Regions from separate parts of the Homo sapiens genome. Here regions 2 and 3 are each linked to region 1. The links are contacts of gene promoters, found by promoter capture Hi-C in blood cells and fetal thymus (Javierre and others, 2016). All regions are on one chromosome and are shown on one strand. The core of a region is centred on a gene start or on the middle of the fragment in contact, and the rest is flanking DNA. Distances in the headings are between cores, read along the strand shown. Region 1 holds the start of HOXB5 (homeobox B5). Region 2 overlaps COPZ2 (coat protein complex I subunit zeta 2). Region 3 overlaps CBX1 (chromobox 1).

What was found. The method cuts DNA at HindIII sites, captures the fragments that hold promoters and counts their contacts. A CHiCAGO score of 5 or more calls a contact.
Region 2: a contact is called between a fragment that was not itself captured here and the fragment with the promoter of HOXB5 in region 1, in 4 of 17 cell types (erythroblasts, naive B cells, fetal thymus and 1 more). The highest score is 6.2, in erythroblasts.
Region 3: a contact is called between a fragment that was not itself captured here and the fragment with the promoter of HOXB5 in region 1, in 1 of 17 cell types (total CD4 T cells). The highest score is 7.3, in total CD4 T cells.

What each region holds. Positions count from the first base shown.
Region 1 is chr17:48,592,529-48,596,798 of GRCh38, reverse strand. It overlaps HOXB5 (homeobox B5), which reads left to right and starts at 3,020. Exons shown (of 2, transcript NM_002147.4): 1 at 3,020-3,678. The coding sequence starts at 3,117. The region is part of intron 1 of HOXB-AS3 (HOXB cluster antisense RNA 3); the gene reads right to left. HOXB6 (homeobox B6) reads left to right here. Exons shown (of 4, transcript NM_018952.5): 4 at 127-1,048. The coding sequence ends at 386. RefSeq lists enhancers at 136-305, 363-1,034, 2,077-2,582, 2,812-2,881, 2,583-3,090 and a silencer at 3,347-3,396. The HindIII fragment of the contact is 5,828 bases long and covers 1-3,664 here.
Region 2 is chr17:48,025,693-48,029,962 of GRCh38, reverse strand. COPZ2 (coat protein complex I subunit zeta 2) reads left to right here. Exons shown (of 9, transcript NM_016429.4): 7 at 787-838; 8 at 1,453-1,491; 9 at 3,488-3,796. The coding sequence ends at 3,535. Among named protein-coding and RNA genes, the nearest start is that of MIR10226, 5.1 kb to the left of the region's middle. RefSeq lists a silencer at 1,970-2,236 and enhancers at 2,620-3,176, 3,177-3,735. The HindIII fragment of the contact is 4,814 bases long and covers 1-4,255 here.
Region 3 is chr17:48,078,645-48,082,914 of GRCh38, reverse strand. All of the region lies in intron 1 of CBX1 (chromobox 1), which reads left to right. Among named protein-coding and RNA genes, the nearest start is that of CBX1, 21 kb to the left of the region's middle. The HindIII fragment of the contact is 750 bases long and covers 1,609-2,358 here.

The DNA of each region.
Region 1 (4,270 bases), core at 1,771-4,270:
GGGAAGGGAGCCGGCAGAATAGAGGGCATCCCGGTACTGGCTGGAGTCTGTGTTCGAGGGTCGACTAGGGGAGGGGGTCCTGGGCCCGGTGACCGCAGGCCTCAGCATCTCCACTCTGCGTAACAGGTTCCTCCTTTGGGCCCAGCGGCCGGCGAGGCCGCCAGACATACACACGTTACCAGACGCTGGAGCTGGAGAAGGAGTTTCACTACAATCGCTACCTGACGCGGCGGCGGCGCATCGAGATCGCGCACGCCCTGTGCCTGACGGAGAGGCAGATCAAGATATGGTTCCAGAACCGACGCATGAAGTGGAAAAAGGAGAGCAAACTGCTCAGCGCGTCTCAGCTCAGTGCCGAGGAGGAGGAAGAAAAACAGGCCGAGTGAAGGTGCTGGAAAGGGAGGGAGGACGCGAGGGGAAAGGCCTGTGGGGAGCCGAGGGCGTCAGAGAGACCCGGGAAGGAAGGCTCTCGGGTGGGGGAGCCAGGAGACCTGCTCTCCGGCGCAGACAGGCGGGGCCCAGCGCTCTCCTGGACGCCCCCGCCCGCACAGCTCCCGGCGGGTGCTCTGAGGCCTCACTACTCGAGCCCACCCAGCATCCCGCGCGCCCTTCCTTCCCGAGGAACTCGCCTCAGCCTGATCAGGCTTCCTGGTGAGAACTGAGGAGCGGACTCACTTGATGTTTCCTGGAAGCAGAGCAAAATGCTCTTGTCCCTGTCGCGTCTCATTTTGTCCATGTCCCCCGTGCACGGTTCAATGGTAGATTCGCTGTCCCCTCAGCGGGGGCCTTGAAGACTCCCTGATCCCAGACCTGTCGTCTCTCCCACCCCCTCCCCAAAGCCACTGGAAGGAGCACATACTACCTAGAAGTAAGAAGAGGAGCCTCAGAAGAAAACAAAGTTCTATTTTATTAATTTTCTATGTGTTGTGTTTGTAGTCTTGTCTTAGCTCTGGACGTGAAATACTTCGATGATGATGATGATGATGATGATGATAATAATAATAATAATAACAACAACAACAACAATAATAAAGATGTGAAAACTCGACGCTCGGTCACCTCCAATCCTCCCCTGCCATTTTTTCCTCTCTCCTCAACCCCCAGCCTCTCCATCTTTCCTGAGCCAGAATTCTTCAGCAAAGGCGAGAGCCCTGGCCCGCCGAAGCGAGCCCTGTTCGACTGGGAAGTTACAGCTGAGATAAAGGCTGGAGCGATCAGTCCTGCCCAGGCCCCAGCGCTGCGTTTCCCTGGTGCTGAGGCTCACAGCCGCTTCTCCCCGTGCAGACTTGGGGGATGGAGAGGTGCTGTGTCCCTCTCATTCTCTAGCCTTTCCTCGTGTATACACAGCACTAAGGGAGCCACTGAGGCCCCTAAAGCTCTCTGGCGGAGACGGAGCCATAGTCTGGGGGCCTCTGCAGCGCTTTTCTGTCCTCACCTTCGCAGCGACCCCTGGTCTTTGGCCCGTCCACATGGCCAGGTTTTTTCGCCAGCCTTGGCCCTCCGCTCCTGGCCTGTGGCTCTGGAGACTGAAAAATGGGGCCACTGGGTATCTCTCACCCTGCAGCTGAAGGCTCCAGGTGCCCCTTCCCACCTCAAGTAGCAGATCAGCCTCAAGTAGGAGATCAGCCTCAAGTAGGGGAATGTAAAGCCACCAGCCAGGCACAGGCCGAAGGCCACAACTTTCCCTTGCTCCTTGGAGACCCCAGGGCAGGAGGCCAGGTGATGGGGCTTTTAGTGTCATCCTCTCAACCCAGAATGGCTCATTCTCTCTCTGCTTGCACCGGCACCCAGAAGGCAAGCTGCGGTCACTGTTTTCCTTTATTCCTCCGCCCTCTCGCTTCCTTTCTTATTTTTAAAGAAAATAGTCCCCTCCTAATAGGAGACCAGCTGCGGCGGTCTCTGGCCGCCCAGCGTGCTCAGCAAAGCATGCGGGTCCTTGGAACCCCTTTTCCGGGAAGGCGGCTGCCACCAGGCAAATTCTCAAACTGCCTAGCTGCGAGTGAGGGACCTGTAGTGGGGCCTCCGAATGCAATAGCCGAGGAGGAGGGGAAGGGATCCCGCTTTACAAACTCTCAGACACATGTTACTACTCAAACTAAGCAGCAGACGCGGTGGCCGCTGCAGTCTTTTCGGCAACTAGGCCGCTTAGCCCCAGCTGTGCTCGGTTTCTGGGGTCCCTGTCCTGCTCTGTCACTCCCCACGCCTGGGCTAAGGACCACCAAGGAGGTCCGGAAGGGGATTTCGAACTTCCAAGTGGCCCAGGAGAAGTGAACGCTTCTCCTTCTTTTTCAAGCCTCCCGCCCAGCCCTGCCGGCTCGGCCTGGGCGCTGTGGACCGGTAACAGCAGTTCCACCAGGATGCAGGCCGGACTAAGCTCCTGGGGAAAACCCGTTGCAATAATTGTTTTTCACACACAACTTCCAACCCTTCCCCCATTTCCGCCTCCAATTCGGAGACTTGCAAAGCCCAAGAAAGGGAAAAGCAACTCTATCTTTGATCTTCTCATCCAAAGTTAAAATAATAACGACAATGATGATGTAGGGAGAAAGAACCAAATAGAGAGGCTAACCCCACCCACAAGAAAGTGGGTAAAAAGCCCAACCCCTGCTCTAAAAGGCTCAACCCTGTGGCTGAGCCTTGGCCGGGTTTCTTTCTCTCCCGGCGACTGCAGGGAGCCTGCAGGGAGCCAGCAGGGAGGCAGCCGCCCGCCGCCATGGCGGTCTCACGCCCGCGCTCCCGTCGGTCGCCGGGAGGTGGCGCGCTCTGCTCAGAGGCCAAAGCCAACCTTCTCTCTGTTTCTCCCCCTTCTCCTTTTTTCCCCCTCTCTCGGAGGCTCGCATTGAATCGGCCCTAACGATTCTCGGATCGTCATTATTTGTAACCATAGAGCATGAATTACCTCTTGAGGTCATCAGCGAGAATTTACGACTGGTCAACAAAAGCACGTGATTCCCTAACGCCCCCCACCCCCCTTCCAACCCCCCCCCCATATTTGGCCGCATACATAGCAAAACGAAGTACAGTGCATCGCTATAATTCATTAATACATCATAAATCGTGAAGCACAGGGTTATAACGACCACGATCCACAAATCAAGCCCTCCAAAATCACCCAAATGAGCTCGTACTTTGTAAACTCCTTCTCGGGGCGTTATCCAAATGGCCCGGACTATCAGTTGCTAAATTATGGCAGTGGCAGCTCTCTGAGCGGCTCTTACAGGGATCCCGCTGCCATGCACACCGGCTCTTACGGCTACAATTACAATGGGATGGACCTCAGCGTCAACCGCTCCTCGGCCTCCTCCAGCCACTTTGGGGCGGTGGGCGAGAGCTCGCGCGCCTTCCCCGCGCCCGCCCAGGAGCCCCGCTTCAGGCAAGCGGCTTCGAGCTGCTCCCTGTCCTCGCCCGAGTCCCTGCCCTGCACCAACGGCGACAGCCACGGCGCCAAGCCCTCTGCTTCGTCCCCCTCCGACCAGGCGACCTCAGCCAGCTCCAGCGCCAATTTCACCGAAATAGACGAGGCCAGCGCGTCCTCGGAGCCTGAGGAAGCGGCAAGCCAGCTAAGCAGCCCCAGCCTAGCTCGGGCGCAGCCAGAGCCCATGGCCACCTCCACAGCCGCGCCCGAGGGGCAGACTCCGCAAATATTCCCCTGGATGAGGAAGCTTCACATCAGCCATGGTAATTCTCTCTCTCTTTTTTGTCTTCTCGGCTTTCCTTCTCTGCGTTTTGGGGTGGGATCGGGGGGACAAGGAGAGCTTGGCTTTACCCTAAATATAGATTCATTTTTCTAAGGGGGAGAAGTATCTAAGAGGGGCCTCATAGCTTCGTAGACAGAGCCAAAAAGGGTCTCTCTGTTAAGAGGGGGGTATTTTTAATAATTTGTTTCCAGCTTCGGCTTAGGTTTTTATTAGCGCAGCTGAACCAGCTTTAGGATAAAGGATGGGGTTCATATAATGTGGGGAAGGGTCCTGCTTACCCCTGAAATTTTGAGACTGTCGCTAGCAAAGAAGGGGTGAACAGTAAAAGGAGCTTTCCGGGGCAAAAGTGCAACCGCTCTCCTCCCTCCCGGGGCGAGCGGCCGCCTGAGCCCAGCCAAGGGTGAGGCACTAGGAGCGAGCAAGAGACAAAGCCGGGCGCACTGGCTGCCTGCAGAAGTGGGGGATGCAGTAGAAAGGGGTGCAGAAATCGAGCTTGAATGTGGGCATCTGGAGTAGAGAGGATTGGAGCTGTGGTGAGCTGGGTGCCGGGACGCCTGGGTCCTGCTCCCCCG
Region 2 (4,270 bases), core at 599-3,098, 570 kb after region 1:
AGAGTCTCACTGTGATGCCCAGGCTGGAGTGCAGTGGCGCAATCTTGGCTCACTGCAACCTCTGCCTCCCGGGTTGAAGCGATTCTCCTGCCTCACCCTCCCAATTAGCTGGAATTACAATGTGTGCCACCATGCCTGGCTGATTTTTGTACTTTTACTAGAGACAGGGTTTCGCCATGTTGGCCAGGCTGGTCTGGAACTCCTGACCTCAGGTGATCCACCCGCCTCGGCCTCCCAAAGTGCTGGGATTACAGGCATGAGCCACCGTGCCCAGCCTTAAAAAAAAAAAAAAAGGGAGGAAGTAGGGGAGAAGGTAGATGCTGATTTTTGGAGTTTCATTTCTTTTATGCAGGGCATGACCCCATGCCATAAAATAACAGTGCAACAAGATAAGAACCCCCAGGGCCTCTCTTCCTAACTCTTTTCACAGGGAATCCAATCCTATACCCAGAAAGTGAAGTGAACTTTCAAGAGCTCTGAGTTTTGAGAGTCCCTGCTTTTGACAACCTGATCATCCTAGACCAGACTGTTCTTATCCAGTTTCAAAGATTTTGCCCAGGGATGACAAAGCATGTGGACCACTGGGTTGAAGCATCAAAGAATCAGAGCTGAGGGCTCTCCATGCTGAGGGAGAGTTCTGACTTGAGGGCTATCAGTGGGAAGGGACCTGGAAGGTGGAGATGTTGCAGGATGCCTTCGGAGAGGGAAGAGGCTTGGCAAGGAGAAGGGGCGGAGGGGAGGATTGTGCCACTGATTTGCCTCCTGGTTTTTCCTCTCATCTTGTAGTGTGATTCTGGAGAGTGACCCCCAGCAAGTGATCCAGAAGGTGAATTTTAGGGTAAGAGTCTTCCTGGACACCTCCTCTTTTAGGCTGCCCTTCCTGTCCTCCCTGGGAATAGGGCTGCTAGGGCCTAGATGGTAGAAGCCCAAGCTCCTCTAGCAGAAGCCAACCACTGGGCTGACACACTTGTTAGGGGTGAGATGAGCAGCAGTTTCTGGGTGGGATGCCAGTTAATGGAAGAAATCTTCCTGTCCTCTCCCCGGCTAGGAGCACAAGTACCTCACCTCTTTCCTGGTAGGAAGTATAGACTGGGGAAATAAATACATCTTCAAAGAGGCACTAGGTGGCTGCCTTGGCCTTGAGGTTGGGGGTCAGGGGTATGGATAGAACCTCCCTGCCTTGTTTGGCTTTCTCATGTCTGGATGAAACCTTTCTTCCCATCTTTCTTCCCATCTTCCCTCACCCTCCACGCACCATAGCACAATCCCAGAGGTCCTGGCTTCCAAATGACAGGCTGCAGGACTTCTATTAACCAGTGACACAGGTGCAGCTCTGAATCACCCTAACCACTGCACCACCTCACCCATACCCCCAAGCCCCTTTCCTTCACCTCCCTGACCCAGGACCCTCATGCTGGCCCTACCCCACCCCTTGACTCTGCTTCCTTACAGGCAGATGATGGCGGCTTGACTGAACAGAGTGTGGCCCAGGTAGGCCCCCCTGCATCTGCCTTGGCTAGAAATGGTCTAGAGAGATACGGGGAGCAGAGCATCCTAGAGCATCCTAGGGGGACCCAGTGAAGTTATCAAGTCTGAAAAATCAGGGGTGAGAAGGGAAGGGATGAGGCAGTGACAGGTCATATCTTGGAAAGACTCACTGGAGGCCTCCGGGCTCTCCAACTCAGGGGAGCTGGGTACTAATGGATGGATGGGCATGTTACCATCAGCCCACCTCATCTCCTGGCTTGGTTTAGTTGGATTGAAACTAGGATGAGCTGCCTACCTTGGAGATGGCTGGGTCACTTGTGCACCCCAAAAATCTGGGAACTCAGGCCTCTGATGCGCCCTCTACCGAAACCTGGAAAGGGTACCAAATAGGAGTTTGGCTCTTAACCCCTGTCCTTGCCACTTAGGGTGCACACTGGGATTGTTAAGGGACTCTCAAACCCATGATAGGATCTGACTTTCCCCACTCATCACTTGTCACCTTACCCCTGAGTGACCTGGCTATGGAAGAACCTGCCACAACCCTGCATGGTCTTATCTGGAGGTGCTTGCAGAGCGTAAGGCCAGGGGGAGGTTCCTGGCTCTGAAGCCTGATCAGTTCCCCAGCTGCACAAACTTCCTGCTAGTTCAGGACGACTGTCTTGACCTCTCTTCTGTCCACCTGCAGGTCTCTCTGCTCAGACTAATCCTGCTTGTATGGAACTTCCCGCCCTGGCGCTAACTCCTCGTGCTGTGGTGGCCCTACCGAGATGAGCCTGTGCTGTCTCGTGTGGAGTCCCAGGTGTGGCGCCCATTTTCCTGCACTGCCCTTAGCGCTCACTCTGCTTCGCCCTCCCCTCTGATTCCCCATGTTTCCTCATACCATGCTGGAATGAATGCAGCTGCAAGGCAATTTTTAGAGTGGAAAGAGGGTAGGGAGTAATAAGCAGAGCAGATAAGAACACAGGTGCTCATGGGAGTCATCCCAGGGTACGTGTTCTACCTTACCACCTAAAGCTGGGTGACCTAGGGCAAGTTACTCAACCTCTCTGGGCCTCACATAATAACAGGACCCTCTTCATGGAGTTATGAGAATTCAATGAGCCAATGCGTGACAAGCTCTTAGTAGGGCTCCAAGCCAGTTAACACATGCTGAATAACCATCAGTATTTCTCCAAAGGGAGAAAGAATGAAAACATAGCATTTTTGATGGAATTCTTGAGTAAAAACAAAGGAAGCTACAGGTAGCCAATGGGGGATAAAATGAGGACAAAGTTAGATTCTGGCTAGGAGAATCAGGGGAACCCTAAGCCACTGTCCCCAAGAGAGGAGGGAGACTGTGCAGGAGGAGGAGACACAGCGTTCCCTCCTTCTCTAGAGGGGAATAAGGCTGAGTGGCTGGAGGGACAATCTGAGGGACACACCTGAGTCCTGTCCCCCTCTCCTGCTTTGGTATTGTGCATGCACGTGTGCACTTATATGGATTTGTGTAAGCACTGGGCTGAGACTTTCCACCAGGCATCCCACCGCAGGGTCTGGCTGGCCACCCTTTGCCAGCTATGCCACATCAGCAGTGGGTTGCGGTGGGGTGTTGAGGACACATTGCCAGCCATGGCCAGAGCTAGGGGTTTGCTGAGGCGTCTGAGCACAGGGAGTGTCAGGCCTGGGCCCCGTCTCCGCCTGGACGTGGCACTGTGGGCGGGAACTCTCATGGCATGACAGCGGGGAGACAGGCTGCTGCCACACCCACGCTGCAGATGCAGGAGCCAGAGGTCTGGGCAGGCTTGGGCCTGAGGTGGGAGCTGGCTGCAGCCGGTTTGGTCTGCGCTTTCTGACTTGGAGGGTTGGCCGCGTTTAAGCCAAGTGGAGACAAGCTGCTGCCACCTAGTGACCGGTGGTTGCAGGGGCGCTTCGGCAAGGTGGGCTGTGGACCTCCCCATGACTGTGTATGGAGGCATTTGACATTCTCAATTCTCTCTCAACCTCCCCCACCCCACCCCAGGTTCTTCAGTCTGCCAAGGAACAAATTAAATGGTCGTTATTGAAATGAAGGCTGTGGATTCAAGGCTCCCTGCCCCCCAGATCATTTCCCCAATCCTGGCAAAAGCCCAAAGATCCCAGGGTCAGGAGAGACCCCTCTGTATCCCCAGGTCCCTCCCAGAACTGACTCCTAAGGTCTCCAGCCAGGGCTTCTGAGATGCAAAGGTTTGGCCTCAGGAGAGTCACCTTTTCTCACGGCCCTGGCCTTAACTCATATCTTAGGCATTCCTGGCCCCAGGGCCCTAATAAACCTGCTTTTGTCTTCTGCCAAGGGTCTCCTTCTCTCTTGGCCTAGGAAGTGTGTGTGTGTGTGTGTGTTCATATAAGGGCTCCTGCACTTTCTGTGGCTCATCGTGGGGATATCCAGTACCAGGGTGGGGCGTGTCCCTGTGGTTGTGTGATTGGGCAGAGATGTGGGACAAGGGAAAGGGGACTATTTAACACCATGAGGGGGTGCGACGCTGATACCACGGAGCCCCATGTGTGGCGCATACTGCCAGGTAGGGGAGAGCAAAATATGGTACCCCTATTTTGCAATGCAGTACATACATGGTAGCTCCGCTGGGGATTCCTTGAGTCATTTTTTCCATTCCCAAACTCCAGAAGGGAAGAGAGGTAAGGCTTCCTCTGAACAAACCGAGAAACAGCATGGCTATTTTTCTTGGCATGCCTGGAACCGTGGAATTCCTATCCTGGCATACATCCTGGGCACTACAGCTCTCTGCAAGCTTGCGGGTGGTGGGGG
Region 3 (4,270 bases), core at 734-3,233, 510 kb after region 1:
AGCCTGGGTGACAAGAGCGAAATTCCGTCTCAAAAAAAAAAAAAAAAGATAATTGTGTCATTAAAAAAAAATAAAATTACCTGGCACAGTGGCTTACGCCTGTAATCCCAGCACTTTGGGAGGCTGAGGTGGGCGGATTACTTGAGGTCAAGCGTTTGAGACCAGCCTGGCCAACATGGTGAAACCACGTCTTTACTAAAAATACAAAAAAATTAGCCAGGAGTGGTGGTGTGCATCTGTAGTCCCAGCTACTCGGGAGGCTAAGGAAGAGGATCATTTGAACCTGGGAGGTGGAGGTTGCAGTGAACTGATATTGCGTCACTGCACTCCAGCCTGGGCGACAGAGACTCCATCTCAAAAAAATAAATAAAATTATAGATCATTTTTCCTTTTTTTTTTTTTTTTTTTTTTTTGAGATGGAGTCTCGCTCTGTCCCCCAGGCTGGAGTGCAGTGGCATGATCTCGGCTCACTGCAAGCTCCGCTACCCGAGTTCACGCCATTCTCCTGCCTCAGCCTCCCGAGTGGCTGGGATTACAGGTGCCCGCCATCACACCCAGCTAATTTTTTGTATTTTTAGTAGAGATGGGGTTTCACCGTGTTAGCCAGGATGGGCTCGATCTCCTGACCTCGTGATCTGCCCACCTCAGCCTCCCAAAGTGCTGGGATTACAGGTGTGAGCCACCACGCCCAGCCTCTTTATCATTTTTTTAAAGACAGTCTTGCTTCCTCACCCAGGCTGGAGTGCAGTGGCACAATCACAGCTCACAGCAGCCTCAACCTCCTGTGCTTAAGCGATCCTCCCAGCACACCCAGCTGATTATTTTTTGTAGAGATGGGGTCTCACTACGTTGCCCAGGCTGGTCTCAAACTCCTGGGCTCAAGCAGTCCTTCTGCCTAGGCCTTCCAAAGTGCTGGAATTACAGGTGTGTGCTGCCGAGCCCTGACCTCTCTACTGATTTTGACAAATAGCTTTCTTGAAACCCTAGAGAACTAATTGTAAACAAAAAAACACGTTGGGAAGGCTGGCTGGGAATCTCCAGTAATACAGTATCTCTGGATGTAGATGCTCTGGGATGAGCCAGTAAAGAAAGCTCAGGAAGAAGCGGGGATCTGTTTTCTATATTCTTCTTATTTGAGTTGCTCTTAAGACAGTACTTAAAAAGTAAGGAAAGGGCCAGGCTCAGTGGCTTAGGCCTGTAATCCCAGCACTTTGGGAGGCCGAGGCAGGCAGATCACCTGAGGTCAGGAGTTCGAGACCAGCCTGGCCAACATGGTGAAATCTTGTCTCTACTAAGAGTATTAAAAAAATTAGCTGGGCATGGTGGTGAGCGCCTGTAATCCTAGCTCTTTGAGAGGCTGAGACAGGAGAATCGCTTGAACTCAGGAGGTGAAGGTTGCAGTGAGCTGAGAGTGCTCCATTGCACTCCAGCCTGGGCGACAAGAGCGAAACTCTGTCTCAAAAAATAAAAGTGAGTAAAGATCGAAGTCATGAGAATGCTTTACTTTAGATTTCCCCATTTGGGCGCTTTCTTTACCTAACAATTATGCCATTCTATGACTGTTCCTCTCTGAGGCCATGCTAATTAATGATAAAGGGAGGATAAGCTTGCAGTAGGTAGAGATCAGTTAGAAGCTATGCTGACCCTTTCGGCTCATAGCAGAAGGATCAGGTGGATAATAGTCAGTGCTGTTTTATTTTTTGGCCAGATCTCATGCCAGTAATCCCAGCACTTTGGGAGGTCAAGGCAGGTGGATCGCTTGAGCCCAGGGGTTCAAGACCAGCATTGGCAACATGGCAAAAACCCTTCTCTACCGAAAATACAAAAATTAGGCAGTCTCATAACCTGGTCTCTAAATAAGCAAATAAATAGATTAAACTTTTCAAAAAGAAATGCTATTTATTTTTCTAAGACAAATTTTATATATATATATATATATATATATATATATATATATATATATTTTTTTTTTTTTTTTTTTTTTTTTTTTTTTTTGAGATGGAGTCTCGCTCTGTCACCAGGCTGGAGTGCAGTGGCGCGATCTCGGCTCACTGCAACCTCCGCCTCCCGGGTTCAAGCAATTCTCCTGCCTCAGCCTCCCGAGTAGCTGGCACTACAGGCGAGCGCCACCATACCCAGCTAATTTTTATACTTTTAGTAGAGATGGGGTTTCGCCATATTGGCCAAGCTGGTCTCGAACTCCTGACCTTGTGATCTGCCTGCCTCAGTCTCCCAAAGTGCTGGGATTACAGGCGTGAACCACCGCACCCAGCCTTGTAGATGGACTCTAAGTGCATTCTGTCTATACATGCCAGTTTTACAGTGTTTAGAAAACTTAATGATTACACTAAGTAAGCTTCCTTTCCTAAGGATGCTAGGAATAACCAGTTTAACCTCAAATTGGTATTATTTTAAACTCAAGCGGAGACGTAACTCTTCCTTGTCTTGGATTACCTGCCATCCAGGTAATTCTTTGGCCAGTTTTGTTGATCAATTTTGTTTCATTGATACAGTGCCATCTACTGACAAAAATTGGTAATCATAAGGCTTTAAGTCTGTCAGAAGTCAAAGAGTTGGGTCCGGGCACGGTAGCTCATGCCTGTTAATTCCAGAGTTTTGGGAAACCAAAACGGGCAGATCACTTGAGGTCAGGAGTTCGAGACCAGCCTGGCCAACATGCTGAAACCCCATCTCTACTAAATATACAAAAATCAACTGGGCCTGGTGGCAGGTGCCTGTAGTCCTAGCTACTCAGGAGGCTGAGGCATGAGAATCACTTGAACCCTAGAGGCGTAGGTGAGCCGAGATAGCACCATTGCACTGCAGCCTGGGCGACAGAGGGAGACTGTGTCCCCCTCCCCCAAAAAAGTCAAATTTGGATGAAGGACTAAATAAAATAGATTTATAAGGGACTAAAATTTCAACACTGGAAAAACCCTTAGATGTTACCTAGCTTGATGATGTATTTTATAAAGGAGTAAACTCAGATTCTATTATCTTTGATAACTACAGTTCTGTTTTCCCCACACTTGTTTTCCAAATTTTTACAGGGTTCCAGTTTAGAGAATTTCATGATCATTCTGGCATTTTTATGACTCTTCCTTAGTTTTTAGAAATAAATTGGAGGCCAGGTGTGATGGCTTATGTCTGTAATCCCAGTAGGAGGCTGAGGTGGGAGGATCACTTGAGCCTGGGAGTTTGAAACAAGCCTGGGCAACATATTGAGAACTTGTCTCTACTAAAAATTTAAAAAATTAGCCAGGCATGGTGGCGCACACCTGTGGTTCCAGCTACTCAGGAGACTGAGGCAGCGGGATCACTTGAGCCCAGGAGGTCAAAGCTGCAATGAGCCATAATTACTTCACTGCATTCCATCCTAGGTGATAGAGTGAGACACTGTCTCAAAAAAGAAAAAAAGTTGTAAAATAAACTAAATACAATAAGTTAACAAGAAATTTGTGAATCGTAAGTTCAATTCAGAAAAGACTGCATAAAGAACAAGAGAACATGGCTGGGCACAGTGGCTCATGCCTGTAATCCCAGCACTTTGGGAGGCCATGGCGGGTGGATCACTTGAGGTCAGGAGTTCGAGACCAGCTTGGCCAACATGGCGAATCCCTGTCTCTACTAAAAAAACAAAAACTAGCTGGGCATGGTGGCACACACCTGTAGTCCCAGCTACTCAGGAGGCTGAGGCAAAAGAATCACTTGAACCCAGGTGGCGGAGGTTGCAGTGAGCCAAGACTGTGCCACTGCACTCCAGCCCGGCTGGAGTGAGACTCCATCTCAAAGAGGGGGAGGTGCGGGGCCGGGGCTGGAGCTGGGTTCGGTGGCTCACGCCTGTAATCCCAGCACTTTGGGAGGCCAGCACGGGTGAATCACGAAGTCACGAGTTTGAGACCAGCCTGGCAGCTTGACCAACGTTGGTGAAACCCTGTCTCTGCTAAAAATACAAAAATTAGCCGGGCGTGGTAGCTCACACCTGTAGTCCCAGCTACTCAGGAGGCTGAGACAGGAGAATCACTTGAACCCGGGAGGCAGAGGTTGCAGTGAGCCGAGATTGTGCCACTGCACTCCAGCCTGGGCTGGAGTGAGACTCCGTCTCAAAAAAAAAAAAAAAAAAAAAAGTCCAGGCACGGTGGCTCACGCTTGTAATCCCAGCACTTTGGAAAGCCAAGGCAGGCAAATCACGAGGTCAGGAGTTGAAGACCAGCCTGGCCAACGTGGTTAAACCCCGTCTCTTCTAAAAATATAGAAATTAGCCAGGCGT